Regions from separate parts of the Homo sapiens genome. Here all the other regions are linked to region 4. Evidence: promoter capture Hi-C in 16 types of primary human blood cells and fetal thymus (Javierre and others, 2016). All regions are on one chromosome and are shown on one strand. Each heading gives the region's core, a stretch centred on a gene start or on the middle of the fragment in contact. The rest is flanking DNA. Distances are from core to core; before and after follow the strand shown. Region 1 has its middle 15 kb from the start of BTF3. Region 2 has its middle 26 kb from the start of ANKRA2. Region 3 has its middle 21 kb from the start of FOXD1. Region 4 holds the start of TMEM171 (transmembrane protein 171).

Evidence for each region. Contacts are between HindIII fragments. The CHiCAGO score rates a contact against its expected background, and 5 or more counts as called.
Region 1: a fragment that was not itself captured here is called in contact with the fragment with the promoter of TMEM171 in region 4 in 1 of 17 cell types (M1 macrophages); the score reaches 5.3 in M1 macrophages.
Region 2: a fragment that was not itself captured here is called in contact with the fragment with the promoter of TMEM171 in region 4 in 1 of 17 cell types (M2 macrophages); the score reaches 6.3 in M2 macrophages.
Region 3: a fragment that was not itself captured here is called in contact with the fragment with the promoter of TMEM171 in region 4 in 1 of 17 cell types (M2 macrophages); the score reaches 5.5 in M2 macrophages.

What each region holds. Positions count from the first base shown.
Region 1 is chr5:73,512,149-73,515,377 of GRCh38, reverse strand. No RefSeq gene overlaps it. Among named protein-coding and RNA genes, the nearest start is that of BTF3, 15 kb to the right of the region's middle. The HindIII fragment of the contact is 1,274 bases long and covers 893-2,166 here.
Region 2 is chr5:73,538,002-73,541,481 of GRCh38, reverse strand. No RefSeq gene overlaps it. Among named protein-coding and RNA genes, the nearest start is that of ANKRA2, 26 kb to the left of the region's middle. The HindIII fragment of the contact is 995 bases long and covers 1,416-2,410 here.
Region 3 is chr5:73,425,584-73,429,129 of GRCh38, reverse strand. No RefSeq gene overlaps it. Among named protein-coding and RNA genes, the nearest start is that of FOXD1, 21 kb to the left of the region's middle. The HindIII fragment of the contact is 596 bases long and covers 1,902-2,497 here.
Region 4 is chr5:73,118,611-73,122,068 of GRCh38, reverse strand. TMEM171 (transmembrane protein 171) reads right to left here and starts at 1,494. Exons shown (of 4, transcript NM_173490.8): 1 at 1,373-1,494. It overlaps LOC124901001, which reads left to right and starts at 1,578. Exons shown (of 2, transcript XM_047417978.1): 1 at 1,578-3,458. The coding sequence starts at 1,640. The coding sequence ends at 2,341. RefSeq lists an enhancer at 2,104-2,655. The HindIII fragment of the contact is 5,746 bases long and covers 428-3,458 here.

The DNA.
Region 1 (3,229 bases), core at 280-2,779, 390 kb before region 4:
CAATGATTGCTTACTCCAGAAACCACTAAGCAGATGGCAAATGTTTGTCCTTTGGCATGTCTAATTGGATCCCAAAACCATGGTCCGCATTTCGTCTTTGCTTTTTTTTTTGTTGTTGTTTGTTTTCTTTTGTTTGAGACAGGGTCTTACTGTCGCCCAAGGTAGAGTGTGGTGGCGCGATCTCAGCTCACTACAACCTCTGCCTCCCAGGTTCAAGCAGTCCTCCTGCCTCAGCGTCCCAAGTAGCTGGGATTACAGGCATATGCCACCATGCCCAGCTAATTTTTGTACTTTTAGTAGAGATGGGGTTTCACCATGTTGGCCAAGCTGGTCTCGAACTCCTGATCTCAAAGTGATCTGCCTGCCTCAGCCTCCCAAAATGCTGGGATTACAGGTGTGAGTCATCACGCCCGGCCTGGTTTTGTTTTTGAGCCTGGGTCTCATTCTGTTGCCCAAGCTGGAGTACAGTGGCTCTATCATGGCACATTGCAGCCTCAACCTTCTGGGCTCAAGTGATCCTCCCACTTCAACCTCCCCAGTAGGCTGGGACTACAGGTGTGCAGCACCACACCCAGCTAATTTATTTTGGGTTTTTAACTTTTTGTAGAGATGGGGTCTCACTGTGTTGCCCAGGCTGGCATCTTTGGTATAGGGCTGTGTTCTCAAATTTGTGTGTGTTTAAGGATGACTCAAGGTATTCAGAAGATGTGCAGATTCCTGGTGCAACCCCTAGAGAGTCTGATTCTGTAGTCTGGGGTGGGGCCCAGGAAACATTAGCATAGTAGAAGCAGCCCTACCCAGATAGGAACCAGAAGACTGGGCTCCGTTTATATCAGCATAAACCTGAGAAGTCACTTCACCTCACTGGTCCTTCTTTCTTCATTGTAAAGCTTCATTTTTACGAGGGGAGCAATACCCACTCATCATAAGGCTGGTTGCCAGAAGATCAAATTAGAAACTGTAGACAGGAAAAGCACCATTATCACTAAAAGCACACACTCAAGGTCTAATAATTTTGGCTTCTGCCTTTCACAGTGAGAAAACCTGAACAACACCTGGTTAGGTAACACTGTATCCCCACTGTGAGCCTCTGTCCTGTGATAGAGACTCTCTTTTGTGCTTGTGTGTTTTGCGGTGACAGATCACAGCTGGCTTCCCACCAGGCAATGTCTTCTGATTTCCTACATGGCAGTCCTTGTACTGGGTGTGATCACCGCTGTGACTGGTCTTGGGATCACCTTTGGAATACCTGTAAAACCTGAAAGTATGTGTCACCTCTGGGTGGCCAATCTGTCAATAATTCACTCAACCAACAAGAGTATATTTATACTCCATATATTTCCAAAATGGGTGAGTCTACTGATAATGTTCGGCATGTGGTAGGTGCCAGCCACTGCTCTGTTCATTTTATACTTCTCATCTTTATTTTATTCTTAACAAACCTGCAGGGTGCTATCACCATTATGACTGAGAGTCGGTGGGGGGAGGCAACTTGCCCCAGATCATATCGCAAATACATTAATAAGCCAGGTTTCTGATCCAGGTCAGCCTGACTCTGAAGTCAGGATACAGTTTCCACCTTCCAGGAGTTTCCACTGTGATTAGGAGACTGGTGAAACAGTCGTGGGCAATACAGAACAGCATACGACCAGGAATTAAGTTGAGTGAGATGATACATATTTCCAGTAATTTGAGAGAAATCAGCTAGAACTGGTGCTGAAGGGACACGGTCATAAAAGTGAGAACTGGAGCCAAACCTTGTAGGGGGTTCAGATTTAGATTGAGGTTTGGGAAGAGGTTTGCCAGAGATGGAAACTGTGTACCCTCTGGTAGGACACAAAGGATTAGGACTTTGCCTTGCACCAAACTTGAAGTATGTGAGGGAGAGAGGTGAAAAATAACACTGAGTAGTTAAGGGGTGGGGGTGAGTGAAAAATAAGGAAGGATTATGGTCCAGTAGCACTGAATTGCATTACACACACGCATCCACACATTGACACCACGCTTCCTCTTGCCACACTCTGGCAGATGCTCTCCGCTCTGCCATGATGTCCTTCTTCCATTGCTTGTTTGGCTGGCTCATAGAGGGTTTAAGACTAATCTCAGGTGTCCCCAGACTGAGTGAGGTGTGCCACCTCTGTGCTTCCACAAATCCTGTGTAAAGCTTAACCCAGCTCCTGGACACACAGTGCAGTAATTATCTGTTCTGGAATGCATCTTGAAGACAAGCAATATCCTTCTAATCCCAGCCCTGCTACATGCTTATTGGACAAATGCCTTCAGTAATGCATGTTGATTAAAGAACTGAACCTTGATGCTGCCAGAAGTGGAGCCATGGAAGGCTTTTGAGATGATAAAAGCAAGCAGTATTTGTGTGGCTTCAGTGAAGGAAATGGGGCATAGAGAAAGTGATAGATTTGAAATATGGGAAACTGACTCATCAAATTGCCATGAAAACAAACAAACAAACAAAAACCTAAGGCTTAGGGTGTTGGTCTCCTGATGAGAACAGTTTTGGACTCACGATCCTAGTCAGCTTTGGGAGTTAGTAGGATTCTACACAATGGGACATAAGGGTAAGATCTGGATTCTCATTTTACCTTTTGAACACTCATTCAGAAAAGCATTTATTGAGCACATATTATGTGCCAATAATAGTGCTCTGCTCAGGTCTCCTTCAAGAGCGTCTGCATCAGGGAGCTCCTTTAACTGACAGCCCCAGCCACCACCTGTCTGGACCCACCACCACATTCATGCCAAGGCTACTCTTCCCCACGTGGTCCCCAGGCAATTACTGAGCACTGTGGGGTTGCTAGTGCTACCCATCCCTCAAGACATGGGACCCTGCTAATGGGTGACTTTGCCTCAAAGACTCCACCTTGGCCTGTCTGAAACTTTCTTAGAACTGGCTGCAGGCCAGGCACGGTGGCTCACGCCTGTAATCCCATCACTTTGGGAAGCCGAGGCAGGCGGATCACCTGAGGTCAGGAGTTCGAGACCAGCCTGGCCAAAATGGTGAAACGCCATTTCTACTAAAAATACAAAAATTAGCCATGCATGGTGGCAGGCACCTGTAATCCCAGCTACTCGGGAGGCTGAGGCGGGAGAATTGCTAGACCCTGGGAGGCAGAGGTTGTAGTGAGCAGAGATTACGCCATTGCACTGCACTCCAGCCTGGGCAACAGAGTGAGACTCCGTCTCACAAAAAAAAAGCTGCAGTCTGAGACTT
Region 2 (3,480 bases), core at 664-3,163, 420 kb before region 4:
ATGGTGGACATTCGTGGGCCTTTTTGACTCTCCACCTCCTTTTAAGAAAGCCAAAGAGTCCAGTCTTTCCACCCAAGCCTTCCTCTTCCCACCTCCCTTGAAGCTAGAGTACAAGGATGTGATCTGGGCTTAACCAGTCAGACACGCTAGCCCCAGAGTTTTGAATTGGTGGCTGCTGATCCAAAGCAGTATGAGAAATGAAGTCAGAGTGGCTACAGCAATAACTGGTTTCCGGGAGCAGCAGATGCTGCACAAAATGTGACGGCCATGTCCTCACTGGCAAGATTTTGGCTGTGGACCTGCAGCTGCCTGACCCTTTCTCCTGCCTGCTTCTCAAGATTTCCCCATGTTTCTGTGAACCAGGTGCTTTTCAGTCAGTTCCTTTTTGGTTTAACCAGAGTTGGTTTCTGATGCTAAGAATGTTGACAGTTACAAGAAATAAGGAGAATATCCCTACCCTAGACTCTGGGTCCCATTTTGCCACCTGAGCACCAGGAGTCCTTTGTGAAGACAGTCCCTCTGGTTCTGGTCATGTTTGCTGTGATGTCCCCTCCCCTCTTCTCCTCCTTCCCTCTTTCCTTTCTTCCCTCTTCCTCTCCTCCTTCTCTCCTCTCTGAGGGACCAGCATCAGAGACATTCACCACACACTCCCACCATCCCTCACTGGCTCAACATCCTCCACAAACCTTCCCTGAGAAGAGCCTACACCCCATACAACACAGCCTCCATCAGCAGAGCCCTGGGGCCACCCATTCCACTGGTTCATCCATCATGCCCAGACTGACCGCCAGGCAAGGACACAAGTTGTGCCTAGTTTGCAACCCTCCAAATACTGAGAAATGAGTTACTTTGGGAAATGCTTTGTCCTTTTTCTGAAAAGATCCTTCCAGGTTATCTTTGGCAGGGCTAAATTATTCCAGCTGAGCCTGACACCTGCTTCCTGAAGGCTCAGACCCTGCCGCTTTCCTCCCTCCCTCTCTCCCTCCCTCAACACTCCCTCCCTTCCTTTTCATAAGTATTCACTGAGCACCTCCTAGGAATGAGACAAGATGACGAGTCTCAACTCAACCCTCTGTCACTGAAGTCTCACTCCAGTAAGGCGCATTTACTCCAGTATGTCCTGTAACCCACAATGAGTCACTGCATTCAGTGCAGTCTAGGCTATTCCTTCTATTGTAGGTAACAGGAGTCTCTTCTCTTTCCACTGCAAAGGATGTGCCTTCAGATCATCTGAATCATAAAAAAGGTGACATTTCTACTTTTTTCAAAAATAAATAAAAGAGCCCTCCTAAGCAGGAACCCCTCAGTTATGTCACAAGAGCCTTCCAGTAACAACTTCTCTCTGTCATAGCCAATGGCTTAAAGGCACCCAAAGTCCCAGTAAGGTTTTCCCAGACTCTAGTTCCTGGGAAGCTTTACTTGGAAGACAGTTGCAGATAAACGCCAAGCAACCAAGCTGATGGGGAAGAAACCCACTGCCTGGGTCACGCTCAGTCCTTCAGGGTTTCCAGGGACCAAAGATTATGCACAAGAACAGCCCAGTCATATCTACTACCAGTCACTTCCAATAACCAACTTTGCATAAATGTCAATATGTGTCTGCTGACATATATACAACATGCACCCATATGCACATCTTTATAATAGTTTCATTATAATGACATACTTTCAAAAAGTTATTGGCATACATAAACATATGCCCATCTCCAATTAAAATAAACATATACTTAAGCTGTTTTTAGTTTCTGCTTCATAAGTTATAAATAGGCTAAACCATTTACAAAATAATAAAATCCAGCACTAATCTTTCTGTCTGCCGAAGACCATTTTCTGTGATCCTTACCTGAGCACATTTTTCAAGGCCACAGGACTGGGGGGTCAGATTTTCTGCATCTCCAGGTGCCTGGGTCATGCTGGTTTATAATCCTTCTGGCAGCTGGGCACAGTGGTGCATGCCTGTAATCCTGGCACCTTGGGAGGCCAAAGCAGGTGGATCACTTTAGGCCAGGAGTTTGAGACCAGCCTGGCCAACATGGTGAAACCCCACCTCTACTAAAAATGCAGAAATTAGCTGGGCATGATGGTGCACACCTGCAATCCCAGCTACTGGGATGCTGGGGCAGAAGAATCTCTTGAACCTGGGAGGCGGAGGTTACAGTGAGCCAATTTGTGACACTGCGCTGCAGCCTGGGCAACGGAATGAGACTCTGTCGAAAAAAAAAAAAAAAGGCTTCTGGCAGAAATTTAGTCAGGACCTGGGAAGGATTATTTCAAATTAGGTCCATCAAGAGGAAAAGGGGGAAGGAATTCCCAAGTGACACCACCCCTCCCGCCCCACGACAGTTTGAGGATGCCTCTGTCTTCACCTGTTTTGTGCAGATCTGGGTTCATTGTCTCCTAGTCACAAGCTTCCCCACAGCTTCTAGAAGGGTCCATTTTGGAAACTACAGGGGGCTCTGAGGTTTGGCTTTTTGAAGTTCTGAGAGAGGTATCTGCTCCAGCTCAGGAGGTCCCTACGTACCTGCCAGGTAAATGCAAGTTTACCTGGGAGAGAGTCAAGCCTGCTCTTGAGTCCTAGGGCTTAAAGTCTCAGCAGCTTACACAGAAAACTGTGTTCCTCAGCCCACTCGCTGAGCAGGACTTGAAGTCCTTGGCAATGCTCTAATGGCAGTCCCTTAGGAAAATAATTTGTCATCAATTTAAACCCTAAAAATAGACTACATTCCTTACACTACATAGACTTACAACCAACCTTTTTGATTTTTTTCCAAATATTTTATTTTATTTATTTTATTTCTGAGACAGGGTCTTACTCTGTCGCCCAGACTGGAGTGCAGTGGCATGGTCATGGGTCATGGCAGTCTCAACTTCCCTGGACTCAGGTGATCCTCCCACCTCAGCCTCTGGAGTAGTTTGGCCTACAGGCACATGCCACCATGCCAGGTTAATTTTATTATATTTTTTGTAGAAATAGGGTTTCATCATGTTGCCCAGGCTGGTCCTGAACTCCGGGACTGAAGGGGTCCACCTACCTTGGCCTCCCAAAGTGCTGGGATTACAGGTGTGAGCCACTGCACCTGACCTCAGATATTTTAAGCCAAAAAAAATTTTACCTGAAAAAATTTGTTTCAACTACCAGGCACTTGGCAAAACACTCTCCAAATATTATTTCAGTGATTCTCGTCATACGTTTGTATAGAGCTTTAAATAGTTACCAATGGCCAGGTGCAGTAGCTCACACCTGTAATCCCAGCACTTTGGGAGGCTGAGGCCGGTGGATCACTTGAGGTCAGGAGTTCGAGACCAGCTTGGCCAACACAGCAAAACCCCATCTCCACAAAAAATACAAAAATTAGCTGGGTGTGTTGCCACATGCCTGTAGTCCCAGCTACTTGGGGAGGCTGAGGCAGGAGAATCACTTGAACCTGGGAGGCAGAGGTTGCAGTGAGCAGAGATTAAGCCACTGCACTCCAGCCTGGG
Region 3 (3,546 bases), core at 950-3,449, 310 kb before region 4:
TGTTATAGTCCATATCTGTAAGACCTTTTCCTCCTTACTCTGTAGTCTTCATAAGACCCTACTAAGACTTTTTTCTTCTTCATGAATACTATTACCCCATAAAAGCTACCACTACATAGGTAACATGTATGGAGTACTTTAGGCTAGGTTCTATGTTAAGTATGTGACATAAATTAGTTCATTTAATTCTCACAGCCATCCTACAAGGTTTTTAAGAGAGAAACACTGGGCCAGGCATGGTGGTGCACACCTGTAATCCCAGCACTTTGGGAGGCCAAAGTGAGAAGATCCCATGGGCTCAGGAGTTTAAGACCAGGCTGTGCAATGCAGTAAGACCCCATCTCTACAAAAAATTAGCTAGGTGTGTAGGTGCAAGCCTGTAGTCCCAGCTACTTGGGAGGCTGAGGCAGAAGGATGGCTTGAGCTAAGGAGAAGATTGAGGCTGCAGTGAGCTATGTTCACTCCATTGCACTCCAGCATGGGTGACAGAGTGAGACCCTGTCTCCAAAAAAACAAACAAACAGAAAAAAAACAAAAAAAAAAAAAAAAAAGAAGGAATCACTGAAGCATGAGGAGGTTAAGCAGTTTACCATTGTCATATATCTGTAAGTGGATGAGCTAGAATTCAAATCCAGGTGGCTGGATTCTTGAGCCTGGGTGCTGTTACTCTTATTTGCCCCCAGTGAAGGACTCATTTCCCGAATCCCTAGCAATTTTTTATGTGGACCACTACTTACGTGGTATTAATTCTATATGAGCGTTTGTGAAGTGCCAATCTTTACTCAGTCTACTATTAAGTTTCCACTATATTTCAAGCTACTTAAAAGTAAGGCCATGCCTTGTAATTCTTTACATTTCCATAATTCCATGTACATAATTAGCACTGAATAAATATTTTGACTGATTAATAAATTGACTGATTTACCAGGTGAATGATGTGGATAAAATAATTTGGAGTCCATTGGCTTTGTCTACTTACCCAAAGGCAAAACAGTAAAGATAAGAAATTGCTCTAACCATAAATGTTGGCCTAATGGATCTACACTGTCCAACTAGAACAGTAGGGTTGTAGTAATTCACCCTTTCAGATACCTGGCATTCGCACTGCTATGTTGGATGACTGCTGATTGCTCTGACCAAAAGTTATAGACTAGTATAGATGTACAGTCATGGGTTGCTTAACAATGGGGTTATGTTTTGAGAAATTTGTTGTTGTGTGAACATAATAGGGTGTACTTACAGAAATGTAGATGGTATAGTCTACTACACATCTAGACTATATGGTGCAGCCTACTTAGGCTACAAACCTGTTCAGTATGGCTATACTGAGTACTGTAGGCACTTGTAACACAAAGGTAAGTGTACCTAAACATATCTAAACACAGAAAAGACACAATAACAATAAAGCCTAATCATCTTATGGGATCAATATCTGTCTGTTAGTGGTGGTCTGTCATTGACTGAGACATTGTTATGGATGCATGACTGTACTAGGTATCAGAGCTTAGATGTGAACCCAGATCTTCCATCTCCAGAGCCTGTATTCTTTCTTATGACACTGTGGAGGCCTCCCAAAGATGAAGAGTTTGAAATGATGGTAAAGAGACCAGAAGGAACACAAATGGGGAGGACATGAGATTTTGCATAGCATTCCATGGTTATGATGCTAACTCACTTCAGTTTGCATTCCTACTAGAAGGACCTAGTACATATAATTAGCTATTCTTAGCCACCTTATACCTTAGGAGTACAGTTGTGGCCATTACAATATTTTTTGGGTGGGGGGCAGGGAGTGGTAAAGAGTATAAGAAGAACCCTTTTAGAGAATTAAGGTATATTAGTAAGTCTGGCATTTGTACAACTCAATGAAGTTTCTACTGCTGATTAGCTTTTCTGAAGCTTTGTTTAGTTCCTTTTGGCCTCACAACATGTAAAGTACTAGGCTTTGGGGTTAGGTGCATGAGGTTCACTAGGTTGAAAAACTGAAATCCCAGGTAAAGAAAAACTAAAATTCTCTTCTAGATTTGCCACATGATGTACCCTCATAAGCTGTCTCCTGGTTTACGTTGCAAATCATCATCATTAAAACCATGAGCAGTAGCAAGTATTCCCATGACTGGGATCCTGGTCTTGTAAGAGGGAAATTGGGAGGCCTGGCAGCTCTGCTCCCTTTGTTTTTAAGGCAATACTTCTCAAATTTTTAAGATGCTCAGAATAATCTGGTGGGCTTCTTAGAACACAGCATACTGGGCCTCAATCCTAGAGTTTCTGACTCAGTAGATCTTGAGTAGGCCTGGAAATCTGCAGTTCTAACAGGTTCCTGAGTCCCCCACAGATACCAAGGTATGACTGCAGATAGAAAGGTAGGTAGATGAGAGGTAATTTATTAGGGAAGTTGGCTCACATGGTTATGCAGGCTCAGAAATCCCACAACAAGCCGTCCAAAAGCTGGAGACCCTGGATGCCAGTACCATGGCTCAGTCTAAATCTGAAAGCTTCAGAACTAGGGGAGCTGATGGTTTAATTCTCAGTCTGAAACCAAGGGTCTGAGAACCTAGGGGGCTGCTGGTTAAGTATTAGAGTCCAAAGGCTGGAGAGCCTGGAGTTCTGATGTCCAAGAGCAGAAGATGGATGTCTCAGCTCCAGGAGAGAGAGAGAGGAAACCACCTTTCCTCTGCTTTTTTTTGGTTCTTTCTGGGCCTCTAGGTGATTGGGTGGTGCCTGTCCACATAGAGGGTGGATTTCCCTCCACTCAGTTCACAGACTGCCAGTCTTCTCTGGAAACACCCCAACAGACACACCCAGATATAATGTGTTACCAGTTCTCTAGGTATCCTTAATCTAGTCAAGTTGACACCTAAAATTAACCATCACAGGAAGTATACCCCTAATAGTCACCAGTGATACAGAAGACAGCTACTGACATGCTCCCAGTGATGCACACCTCTTGGAATTCAAACCGTGTGTAATCCCCTCCCCTCGAGTGTGAGCAGGACCTAGTCACTTTCCTCCAACAAAGAAAATACAGCTAAAGTGATGGGGTGTCACTTACATGATCAGGTCACGAGAGACTCTGTCTTCCACCTTGCTAGTACTCTCTCGCCCACTTGCATGCTAGCACTGATGCAGCCAAGTGACATGTTGTGAGATGATCTACCTAGAGGCCCACATGGGAAGGAACCTAGGGAGGCGAAGCCTCCAGCCAACAGCCCTGGAAGAAATGAGGCCTCAGTCCACCAGTCAACAAGCACAGAACTGATTCCTGCCACCAAGCAGATGAGTGACCTCAGAAGTGGACCCTTCCAATTCAAGCCTTGAGATGACTGTAGTCATGCAAGAGACCCAGTTAGGGGATCCAGCCAAACCGTGCCCAGCTCCTGACCCATAGAAACTGTGAGATAATAAGTGTTGTTTTAAACTGCTAAGTTTGGGGGTAATCTATTATACCACAATAGATAACTAGCTAGGCAGGAGAACAGCAGTGGGGAGACTTGAGAAAAACTGCCTTAGTGTGAATGATGAGAACCTTCATGTAACGAAGCTATT
Region 4 (3,458 bases), core at 245-2,744:
AGGGGTATAATATATTAAATATGCCAAGTGGTTGTTAAAGAGTTGTCTAGCTTACACAGAGCTGACCTAATTATCTCGTTATCTTATTTTACTCCAATGAATGGGATATTTTACCAGGACCCCGTAAGTCAGGTCCTGCAATTGCAAAGACAATCCAAAATCGTGAAGACTATTTTCACCTGCCCAAGGAAAGAAAACTTTTAAAATATTTTGTGCCGCTCACATCCATGGTCCCATGAAGGAACTCAAGACTGAGGCCCTAAGCCCAAGATGATCTTGACAAACCAAAATCACACTGAGGGAAGGTCAGTTTAGGTAAAGAAAGCAAACAGGCAATCTTACACTGGGAAAAACTTTTCCAGGAAAAAGTATGATAGAATCAGAAGGAAGTTGGAGAAAAAAAGGAAATATAGGAGGGAAAAAAGCTTTCATTTCAAACTTGGAAAAACTTGATATACAGATGCAGTTAAGCTGAGACAAAGCATTGCACTAATTTTTTAATCTTCCCATTTTTTATTAAGTCAGTAACATCCTGCAGTGAATAAGAATTTCATATTGAGTATACAGTAGTCCTCATTTATCCTACAGGGAGTACATTCCAAAACTCTCAGTGGAATGAAACGATGGAGAGTCCTGAAACCTATATATATTGGTTTTTTGTTATTGTTGTTGTTTTAATTTTTTTCCTGAATCATGCAATCTCTTTTGCGGTTTCGGAGACAAGAAAGAGAAGGGTGATTCTCGGCTGCAAAGTCCTATCAGGAATTCATTTATTCCCAGTATAGTCAACTTTGCAGTGAGTCACAAGGCTTCAACTGTCTTAAGGCAAATTCCCAAACACCAGTAAATAGAAGCCCAAAACTGAATCTGTAGTTTCTTGTCCGTGGACTAGTGGACGGAGCACCTGGCTGAGTGTTCACCTCTGATCCATAATAGTGTGGAAATACTCTCTCTCTCTCCTTCTCCCACAGATGCACTCACAAACGGATACAAAGACACCCACATTCACTCGCAATGAAACCTTTTCCAAACACCACCCTACACTTAAACTCCCCAAAGCCAAACTCCCCTCTCCAACACTCCTATTGGTTTTCCAAAAGACATTTCCAAAATTCACAGCACCTCTCCACGTCCAAAGCTATGGTGCGTTTGGGGAACGAAACGAGAGGCAAATGCCTTCTGTGCGAAATCGGTTTGCGGCTTTTAGGGAGCCCGAGCGCAAGCAACAGCCGGAGGGGCTCGCAGGGACGCAGGTTGGGCTCGGATACCCAGCGCCTCCGCGCTGCCGCGGCTCCCCGCGCCCAGCCTGGCCGCACAGCTCAGCGCCCGACCCGCCGCCGCCGGCGCAGGCGCGCGGGCCGGGGCAGCTTACCTGAAGCTGGGTCCGGCGCCTGGCTGACCGCGCTGCTGTGGGCACTGGCTGGGCGCGGCGTCCGCCTCCGCACGCGGCCTCGGCTGCGCCGGCCGCCCTGCACCCTACCCACCGCGCGTCCTGGTGCGGAGGGCGGACCCGGCAGTATTTAGAGAAGGAGGCGGTGCTGCGCGGGCGCGGCGGCCCGGGGAGGGCAGGGCAGGGCAGTGCAGGAGCGACCGGTGGGAGCTGGCCGCCACTGGGGGCCCGGGGCGCGCCCGCGAGGGAATGGAGAGCCAGGGGCGGCTTCGGAACCCAGGGCTGGCGGGTTTGGCAGCCTCCGCGCTCGTGGCCGTGCGCGCGAGGAATCTGGGAGAAATGGGCACCTTCCACGGCTGCCTGGCCCGCACACCTGGCGGGGCCGGCGAGTTGAGATGCCCCCGCCGGCTGGCGGAACTGTGCGCCCCGCCCGCCGAGGCCCGCTCCCCCTCGAGGCCTGAGGCCCAGTTCTATAGGGGCGCGAGAGAGCGGCGGCGTGGGGGGCGCGGAGGAAGCGCCGGCCCCCGCCTCCACCGCCTCCTTCGTGGTTGCGGCCCAGGCCGAACAGGGTACCGTGCCCCGGCCGCCTTGGCCTTGGCCACCGCGAGGTCCGGGGCGACTACACCCAGCAGCCCTGTGGCCCTCCTACTGCTCTGGAGACCTGGAGTGGGGTTACAGAGGGAAGCGACTCGCTGCGAGCTCCCCATCGAATATGGAGCCACCAGGTCACGGGACGACGTGCGCTCTACAGAATGTGAGACAAGGGCCCTCCACACCCAGCCATTCAGGCCTGAGGTCCTGGCTCCGAGACTGAGGCCGAGACGCGGCAAGCCCCGCGCCGGACCAGCTCTGCCCCTCCCGCACCCACGTGTCTGCGCACAGCCCTCCTTTGCGATAGAACCCCCTTCCTGGTTCTCCACCACTAATGATCTGCCGGAATTAAACTGGTAACTTTCCCTGCCCTTGAACCGGGAGTTTCGGGATGAGTTTGCCAATCCCTGTGCTATTTGTAACCAGCCCCGTGACACGTGATACGGATCCAACTGTGCTAGTTTCCACACCAGGGGTCAGGGCACGGTGGAAGGTGAGTCAAGGGTTCTCTGCCCAAGCGCAGAGGTGCCCTGAGCCACGGGGACTTCCCAGCCCTGCCTTCTCTTCTCAGCTTCCTGTCTGCCTTGCCTGAAACCCTATCTAGAGTTAAGGCCAATGGATGAAACTTTTCAATGTGCAAGCAAGCACTTTACCTACCTGATACAACAAGAGATTCCTGGTCATGCTCACTGAAGGTAAAGTATGAAGCAGGCTTAGCTAATCATCAGAGGTGAGAAGAGACTTAAAGAACCAGTCAGAGAGGTAAAGAGGGGAGGGGGTTACCTGGGCTTTAGGGTTCACCAGGGAGGCAGAACGGACAAGTTCTTGCCATTGGAATTTGGTGGGGCACTTGCCTGGGTGGCCAAAGGTGGACTTTTTCATAGCCAGGGTGCCCGACCTCTGTAAATCCCCGCCATAACTAACAGCCCTGATTACTGTCGAAATGAACAATGCCAACACTCACGACCCCTTGCTTTGTGGTTCTTTGCTACATCTCTCCAGCAGTTCAGAAAAGGTTGGAGGCAGCAGGGGACAGGAGACTGAGAAAAACAGTCATTTGTCAGTTGAGGAAACTGAGGTCCAGGCTGACAGAGGTAAAGTAACCTCTGCAGCTGGTTGACATGCAGAGAAGGCCTGAGCCAGATGCAGATGCGCTGACCATTCAGTGTTTCTCCCGCAGCACACCTGTCACTCAGAGAACACACCATGCTGTGAACCCAGAAAACGCCCTCATGGCCTTGTGATGCCAAGCACGTTTAGATTATTATAACAATACAGGCACTGTGTCCCAAGGACATTGCAGTAATCTATGTTTGGGGTGGAGATATCCTTCCTGGTCCAAGTGTCAAGGTATACCACCTTCTGGAAGGGCACCAAAGCATGTCCAGCGAATGGGCAGATACCCAAGAGTGGATTGTACAACAGCAGGCACTGGCTTTCTAAGAACTCAGGCCCTCATTATAGGATTTGTCCCCTC